Regions from separate parts of the Homo sapiens genome. Here region 1 is linked to region 2. The links are contacts of gene promoters, found by promoter capture Hi-C in human tissues and cell types (Jung and others, 2019). All regions are on one chromosome and are shown on one strand. Each heading gives the region's core, a stretch centred on a gene start or on the middle of the fragment in contact. The rest is flanking DNA. Distances are from core to core; before and after follow the strand shown.

The links. The method cuts DNA at HindIII sites, captures the fragments that hold promoters and counts their contacts. A contact is called where the count stands out against the background at its distance.
Region 1: a fragment that was not itself captured here is called in contact with the fragment with the promoter of MLX in region 2 in 1 of the 25 tissues and cell types used here (spleen).

What each region holds. Positions count from the first base shown.
Region 1 is chr17:41,978,765-41,983,205 of GRCh38, reverse strand. It overlaps DNAJC7 (DnaJ heat shock protein family (Hsp40) member C7), which reads left to right. Exons shown (of 14, transcript NM_003315.4): 11 at 805-951; 12 at 1,199-1,351. Among named protein-coding and RNA genes, the nearest start is that of CNP, 14 kb to the right of the region's middle. The HindIII fragment of the contact is 3,240 bases long and covers 1-2,946 here.
Region 2 is chr17:42,565,850-42,569,680 of GRCh38, reverse strand. It overlaps MLX (MAX dimerization protein MLX), which reads right to left and starts at 2,581. Exons shown (of 8, transcript NM_198204.2): 1 at 2,515-2,581; 2 at 2,026-2,062; 3 at 1,122-1,211; 4 at 738-844; 5 at 378-477; 6 at 75-174. The coding sequence starts at 2,556. It overlaps COASY (Coenzyme A synthase), which reads right to left. Exons shown (of 9, transcript NM_025233.7): 9 at 3,404-3,775. The coding sequence ends at 3,713. RefSeq lists enhancers at 1,830-1,919, 1,795-2,302, 3,060-3,109, 3,316-3,822, 3,823-3,831 and a silencer at 2,320-2,719. The HindIII fragment of the contact is 10,895 bases long and covers 1-3,831 here.

The DNA.
Region 1 (4,441 bases), core at 77-2,576, 590 kb after region 2:
TTGCAGTGAGCTAAGATTGCGCGACTATACTCCAGCCTGGGTGACGGAGCGAGACTTCATCTCAAAAACAAAAACAAAAAAAAGAAAAAAAAAGTGAACAGATATCTTGGGTTGGGGCATGAGGCACCTATTTTCTGGTTCCAGATCCTCCCTGTCGTTTTCATTTCATTTTTTGTGTGGTGAGGCTAAAGTGAGGAACCTAAGTCTGGGTAGATTTTCTTTTTTCTTTTTCTTTTTTTTTTTTTTAAGATGGAGTCCTGCTCTGTCACCCAGGCTGGAGTGCAATGGCATGATCATAGCTCACTACAACCTTTGCCTCCCAGGTTCAAACAATTATCCTGCCTCAGCCTCCCGAATAACTGGGATTACAGGCACATGGTACCACGCCTGGCTAATTTTTTGTATTTTTAGTAGGGATGGGGTTTCACCATGTTGGACAGGCTAGTCCCGAACTCCTGACCTCGGGTGATCCATTCTGTCAAGCTTGATTCCTCCCATCTTGGGCCAAGGGCCCCTCCTTTCTTTCGTGCTACCGAAATAGAAGCAAACCTGTGTTTAGAGTTCCCTTTTCTGTCTCATTTACCTGCATCTCTCATTGATGCAGGCCTCCCAAAGTGCTGCGATTACAGGCATGAGTCACCGTGCCTGGCCGAGTAGATTTTTTTTCTAATCTCCAGAAGAAAGCACCGTAAAAGTCCCTGGCATGGTTAACAAGGCCTCTAACTCCCAGGCAGCTGGGCTGAGACCTGGTGAGGAAAAAACCAGAGTCAGATTTGTCCACTGATGCCAGATGTCTTCCTGTAGAACACAAACAGCTCCTAAAAAATGCGCAGCTGGAACTGAAGAAGAGTAAGAGGAAAGATTACTACAAGATTCTAGGAGTGGACAAGAATGCCTCTGAGGACGAGATCAAGAAAGCTTATCGGAAACGGGCCTTGATGCACCATCCAGGTAGAGTAGGTGCGGGGAGTGGGCTCAGTGGGAAGAACCCGCAGGGCAGGCCAACTGCCACACTCAGTCCAGAGGGGACCCCTTGGAGAGGTCCTTCAGCTGAGAATAAGGTGTTGCAGACTTGTGGACCCTCCAAATTTTGGGAAGTGCCAAATTCCAAAATTAGACAGAAAGTAGTTTTTCTCTTAAACTTTGTTTTCTTGAAACTTTGATTTCCACTGAGTTGTTCTTTTACTCCCCACTTTAGATCGGCATAGTGGAGCCAGTGCTGAGGTTCAGAAGGAGGAGGAGAAGAAGTTCAAGGAAGTTGGAGAGGCCTTTACTATCCTCTCTGATCCCAAGAAAAAGACTCGCTATGACAGTGGACAGGACCTAGATGAGGAGGGCATGAATATGGGTGGTGAGTTGGCTGGGGCAGCCTGGGATGAATTTGACAGCTGTAGAATGTTAGAATTTTTTCCAAAGATGCTCCAGAGGGAGAGTCTATTTGGGCCAAATCTGATCCCTGGTCCAAACAGTAATAGACATGGAGTCAAACAAATGCAGTCAAATGTGGCAGGTTCACAGTGTGCAGTGAGCTCTGAGGAGGCGAGCACTAGCAAGGGAAGGCTTGGAAGTGCAGAAAAGCATGGCCCCATGGGTCATGCCTGTAATCCCAGCACTTTGGGAGGCCAAGGCAAGCAGATCACTTGAGGTCAGGAGTTTGAGACCAGCCTGGCCAACATGGTGAAACCCTGTCTCTACTAAAAATACAAAAATTAGGCTGGGCGCGGTGGCTCATGCCTGTAATCTCACCACTTTGTGAGGTCAAAGCAGGTTGATCACCAGGTCAGGAGTTTGAGACCAGCCTGGCCAACATGGTGAAACCTCGTCTCTACTAAAATACAGAAATTAGCCAGGTGTGGTGGTGGGCGCCTGTAATCCCAGCTACTCGGGAGGCCGAGGCATGAGAATCGCTTGCACCCAGGAGGCGGAGGTTGCAGTGAGCCGAGATTGTCCCACTGTACTCCATCCTGGGCGACAGAGCAAGACTTTGTCTCAATTAAAAAAAATAATAAGAAGAAAGAAAAAAGAAAAATTAGCCAGGTGTGGTGGTGCACACCTGTAATCCCAGCTACTTGAACCCGGGAGGTGGAGGTTGCAGTGAGCCAAGATGGCGCTACTGCACTCCAGCCTGGGCAACAGAGTGAGACTCCATCCCTCCCCACTAAAAAAGCAAAGCATGGCCTCTTTGGGGATCTGCAGGGGGCTTGGTCTAGGGAAGATAAAGGGATAGGGTGCTAGAGGCAGGTGGTGGTGGAAGGCCGGCAAGTAGCTGGATCAGAGCTCACAGGCCATAAGGGCTGTATGTGGTAAGGAATATGAGCATTTTCCTATTATCTGGAAGTTCTTTTTTACCCACTGCAAAGTGTATGCTGACATTTATGTATGTCATACATTCCTATAAACACTCACAGATTTTAATTTCCCAAAAAGATTTAGCATGATATAAAGCACACCTATTGTCAATATTGTTGCTCACTGTGGGCTGTCAGAGATAAGAGGCCCTGACCTGTGAGCTGGGCGCGGTGGCTTACGCCTGTAATCCCAGCACTTTGGGAAGCCAAGGCGGGCAGATCACCTGAGCTCAGGAGTTCAAGACCACCCTGGGCAACATACAAAATACCAAAAAAATTGTACTCTCTACTAAAATACAAAAAAATTAGCTGAGCATGGTGGTGCATGCCTGTGGTCCAAGCTACTCAGGAGACTGAGGCACCAAAAACTCTTGAGCCCAGGAGGCAGAGGTTGCAGTGAGCTGAGATTGCGCCACTGTACTCCAGCTTGGGTTACAGAGTGCGACTCCATCTCAAAAATTAATTAATTAATTCAGTCAGTCTTCACTCTAAGTTGTCTGCCAAAAAATTTGCTGGGCATGGTGGCTCACGCCTGTAATCCCATCACTTTGGGAGAACAAGGTGGGCGGACCACAAGGTCAAGAGATTGAGACCATCCTGCCCAACATGGTGAAACCCCGTCTCTATGAAAAATACAAAAATTAGCTAGCCATGGTGGCGCACGCCTGTAGTCCCAGCTACTTGGGAGGCTGAGGCAGGAGAATCGCTTGAACTCGGGAGGCGGAGGTTGCAATGAGCTGAGATCGCACCACTGCACTCCAGCCTGGCGACAGAGCAAGACTTGTCTCAAAAAAAAAAAAAAAAAGAGGACCTGACCTGTGAATGGTGAACAGACCTACCATCTCTTCCACTAAGAAAATCTATTGGGATTTTGTTTTTTGTTTTGTTTTGTTTTTTGAGACGGAGTCTTGCTGTGTCACCCAGGCTGGAGTGCAGTGGCACCATCTCGACTCACTGCAACCTCCGCCTCCAGGGTTCAAGTGATTCTTCTGCCTCAGCCTCCCGAGTAGCTGGGACTACAGGTGTGCGCCACCACGCCCAGCTAATTTTTGTATTTTAAGTAGAGACGGGGTTTTACCATATTGGCCAGGCTGATCTGGAACTCCTGACTTCGTGATCCACCCACCTCGGCCTCCCAAAGGGCTGGAATTACAGGCGTGAGCCACCGCGCCCGGCCTTTTTTTTTTTTTTTTTTTTTTTAAGACTGAGCCCAGTCTGGGTGCAGTAGTGCCATCTTGGCTCACTGCAACCTCTGCCTCCAGGGTTCAAGCAATTCTCCTGCCTCAGCCTCCTGAGCAGCTGGGATTACAGGCATCCACCCCCATGCCTAGCTAATTTTTATATTTTTAGTAGAGACAGGGTTTCACCATGTTGGCCGGGCTGGTCTTGAACTCCTGACCGCAAGTGATCTACTGGCCTTGGCCTCCCAAAGTGCTGGGATTACAGGCGTGAGCCACTGTGCCTGGCCTTCCATTGCAACTTATTTATTTATTTAATTTTTTTTTGTTGTTATGTTTTTGAGACATGGTCTTACTCTGTCACCCAGGCTGGTGTGCAGTGGTGCAGTCTCAGCTCACGGCAACCTCCACCTCCCAGGTTCAAGAAATTCTCCTGCCTCAGCCTCCTGAGTAGCTGGGATTACAGGCACCTGCAGCCACACCCGGCTAATTTTTATATTTTTAGTAGAGACGGGGTTTCACCATGTTGGCCAGGCTGGTCTCAAACTCCTGACTTTGTGTGATCCGCCCATCTTGGCCTCCCAAAGTGTTGGGATGACAGGCGTGAGCCACCGCACCCAGCCGGAATTTAAAATAAGAATGATGGTACTATATAGATAATGCTGAGTCCTCTCCAGTTCAGTGTGGGGGTATTTGTGTTTAATAAACCTAGGTTCACCACAATAAACATGTTCCTCTGCCTAGCAGTTAAGAAGATCTATAAGCAGTCAAAAACTAGTGAAGAGGTTTTGTTTTGTTTTGAGACGGAGTCTCACTCTGTCGCCCAGGCTGGAGTGCAGTGGCGCGATCTCTGCTCACTGCAAGCTCCGCCTCCCGGGTTCACGCCATTCTCCTGCCTTAGCCTCCCAAGTAGCT
Region 2 (3,831 bases), core at 1,332-3,831:
CCTTTGAACAAGGGAGGGTGTGCAATGAAGTTGCCTCAGAAGTTCTGGTTCCCCCCATTCAGCACCCCTCTTACACTTTCATGATCTTTAGGGCGGTGACATCCTTGCGTAACGTGGACACCTCCTCCTCCTGCTTTTTCTTCTCCTTGTGCAAAAACTGAATGTAGTCAATGGCTAGGGTGGGGGCAAGAAAAAAAGGACAGGTACAGAAGTATTCTCAACCAAGAAGATAAGGCTGACTTTGTTCCCCTTACCCCAGACCCCAACTATCCCATGGCAATCACCACACCAAGGCCGAGCCATGGGTGGGTAGGAGGCACTGGCCTCTTCACAGCCCCGCTTGGCTCCATCCCCTCCAGTGCTTTCCCTAGCCATACTCTTTTGTAGAACGATGGCTTTGCTGAGCTTTTGGGAGCCAATGGAGAAGTCCTGCTGCTGGCAAGTGGGGACGATGGTCTGAAGGTCATCATAGCCTCTCTGTGGAAACAGCAGGGGAAATGGGTTCTTTAACCCTGAGAGATTAAAGCAAAATGGCACAAAGTTCCTCCATGACACCAAGTTCTATGCTCACAAACTCAATGGGGTGGGAAGGCTGCAAGGGAGGTGTTTGTGCCTGGGACTATACTACCTGCCCACCCCCTAGGGTGCCTGGGACTGTCTGAGTGGGTCAGGGCACAGGGAAGCTAAACTATGCAGGGCCCTCCCGCACTGGCTGAGGCACAGGCCTCCCTGTTCACCTTGATGGCGTCCCTCCTCTTCTGCTCAGCCTGAGTGTGTGCGCGCCGCCGCCGGTCTTTGTAGGACTCCTTGTAGGCCTCCTGGTGGTAATCACTGTCCTCATCATCTACGCTCAGAGATGGGGGCAGGGAAAGGTCATCTTGGGGCCCAGTGGGGTCCAGCTAGCCCACCTTTCCCCAGCTGGGAAGAACCTGGTGTCCAGAGAAGGCAGATGGACAGAACCACCTAATGTTCCAGATGAGGTGAAAGATGGTGAGACCTTGTGTCTGATACTTTGGCTCCAGCACCCCTGTGTGGATGGCTGGGGCTTCCCTGTCTAGGAAAGGTACTACAATTATGACATATCTGAGCCCCCCGAGGTCGGGGGGGATGTTACTGCCTACCTGTGTTGGGGACAGAAGAGGCACTGGTGGAACCGATGCTATTAGCTCTGGACACTACACTCCCCTTGCGGGTGCTTTCTACAAAAAGCCCTGGAAAAGAGAGGCCCCAATCACTAAGGGGTGGGGTGGGGAACATTGCCAGACCCTCAGACACCTGTAGGACACAATGGCTTTCTTTTATTTATTTATTTTTTTTTTAGACAGAGTCTCGCTCAGTCGCCCAGGCTAGAGTGCAGTGGCGCGATCTCGGCTCACTGCAAGCTCCGCCTCCCAGGTTCACGCCATTCTCCTGCCTCAGCCTCCCGAGTAGCTGGGACTACAGGCGCCCGCCACCACGCCCGGCTAATTTTTTTGTATTTTTTAGTGGAGACGGGGTTTCACCGTGTTAGCCAGGATGGTCTCGGTCTCCTGACCTCGTGATCCGCCTGCCTCGGCCTCCCAAAGTGCTGGGATTACAGGGGTGAGCCACCGCGCCCGGCCACACAATGGCTTTCTTAAATGCTGACCTCTTCCCTTCAACCCAAAGCCAACCATACTGGGCCCCCCACTTCCTGCCAGACCACGCTGCAGTGCTCTGCTCCCTAGTGTCTACACTGCTCCATAGGCCTGCATGATACCCCCCTGGCTCACAAACGGGCATGTGGACGTGATGAGGGTGTGAGTGATCAGCTGCTCCACTGAGTGGTGAGTGATCAGTTCCACCACTTCCCTGTTCCAGAGCAGAGGGAACTAGGTGTCACCCTCAGTTGTTTTCTGCCCTTGTCCTTCAGCTCCTGCTGTCTCAAGCCAGGAACTCTGCTCAGGGAGAGTGGACTGTGCTCAGGCGTGGTTGGCAACGCCACAAGAATCTAGAGAGCCTGGGCGGGAGTGTCCCTCTAGAGCTTAAGATGGGGCAGCTACTCACCGGGGTCCAGGCTGTTGTCGCTGTAGGCATACTCCACCTGCGGCACAGAGCACGGGAAGGGCCCGTCAGACCTCCGCCCCTAGGGGGAGGCGCCCCTTCCACTGCAGGCACGCACAGCGCGCCCCCCATTCCGGGAAGGCGCCTCTGTCACCCTGCGCGCTTGCACACACACAGCCCGGGGTGCGCGGGCAGCTTAATGAGTCCCCCGAGACTGGCACAGGCTAGGGCGTGCGAGTGCCTCCCCTGTGTATGATCCCTTCCGCCCCTACTCCACCCCAGTGCCCCGTTCCCCCGACTCGCGCGCACACGCCTCGTTTGTCTCCCCACCTTGGCACACGCGGGGTGAGAGCTGTCTTCTCTGCAGCCCCGGGGCACGGAGAGCGTGGGGGACTTTGGGGACAGGAGGGAAGCCCCTCGTCTTCCGGCCCCCCTACGTGCACGAGCCCGACCCGCCCTCCCCTCGCCGGCGTGCGCGCCCACGGGGCTTGCCTTGACCCAAGGGTCCTCGGGAGAGGCGCCCGGCTCCGTCATCTTGTACCCACCGGACCGGAAACGGGCCAGCGGGCGGGCCCCCTGCGGCGAGGAAGCGGGTGGCGTGCCCACGTGACCCGCGCCCGCCAATCCGCGACCGAGAGGTGGGGCAGGGCGAAGCATCGCGCATGCGCAGCCCAAAGACTTTACTCCACGGTTCCAGCCGTCAAGGCCCGGCGCTTGGCCTGGCGCCAGCCTCCTTCGAGACTGCTCCCCGCCGTGCCTGCCCTCCCCGGGTTAGGCAGTGGAATGGCGGCGACATGAAGCGCGTTTTGTAAGATGGAGTCCCCTCAATTGGCTTGTCAGCACACCGCCGCAGATAGTGTGTGCACGCGCACTGTCCGGCCGGCCGGCTCCCCACGTTACCCTGAGGGCGGCCTCCCCGCGCTCACCGGACCTGCACTGCTGGCCGGTGTGTCAGGAACCGGGCAGAGAAGCCCCCAGCCACATCGTCCGACCCCACCAGGCTGCAAGCTCTGTGAGGGCAGAGGCCCCGCCTGGCGCGCGGAAGGCTGATCTTCCAACACCCAGCCCAGTGTCTGGCAGGATGCATGTGGAATGAACCCTTGCAAAGAACCTGCTAGCTAGGTTATGCGGCCTCTCATATTAAAAACAAAACAAAAACAATAAAACACGGCAGTACCTAGAAAGTCTACACCTTACTCAGAAGAACACAGCTGGTCAGTGGGAGGGCCAAAGCTCGCCTCTGGCTAGCCTCAAAGGCCATTCTCTTAACCACTGCATTGCCCAGGCTTCCAGCTCAGGCCTGGGCCCTGCACTTGTGGCTTAAGGATCCCAAAGATACTTAGGGGCATTGGAACAGGAAGCAGACACCATACAAGCAACATCTCAGAACATTCACCTTTAATTCTGTTACAGGTTCCAGTATTTGCGCTGGCCCTAGTCAGCTGTGGGTAAGAGTCACCCATGGGCAAGAGTGGGGAGGGGACTGCTCCCCCATGAACCACATCCTCAGTGTTGGCCAAATACCAGCGTGTTGGGTAGGCTTCCTGTGTCCACCAGGCCTGGCCATGTCCTGCACAGTATAGCTTGGACCTCTGGGCCTGAACCAGGGTGAGCATCAAGGCCCCCATTTCTCCTCACCACGGGGTCGCTTGTCAGCTCCAGGAGCCAGTCTGGCCCCACTGAGAACTTTTCAGTCGAGGGCCTGATGAGTCTTGGGAATGCGCTTCTGCAAGAGGGCCCAGGCTTTCTCCACCTTCAGACAGGCCAGGATGTTGGGAGGAAGAGAGGGCAGGGTCAGGCAGTACCCAC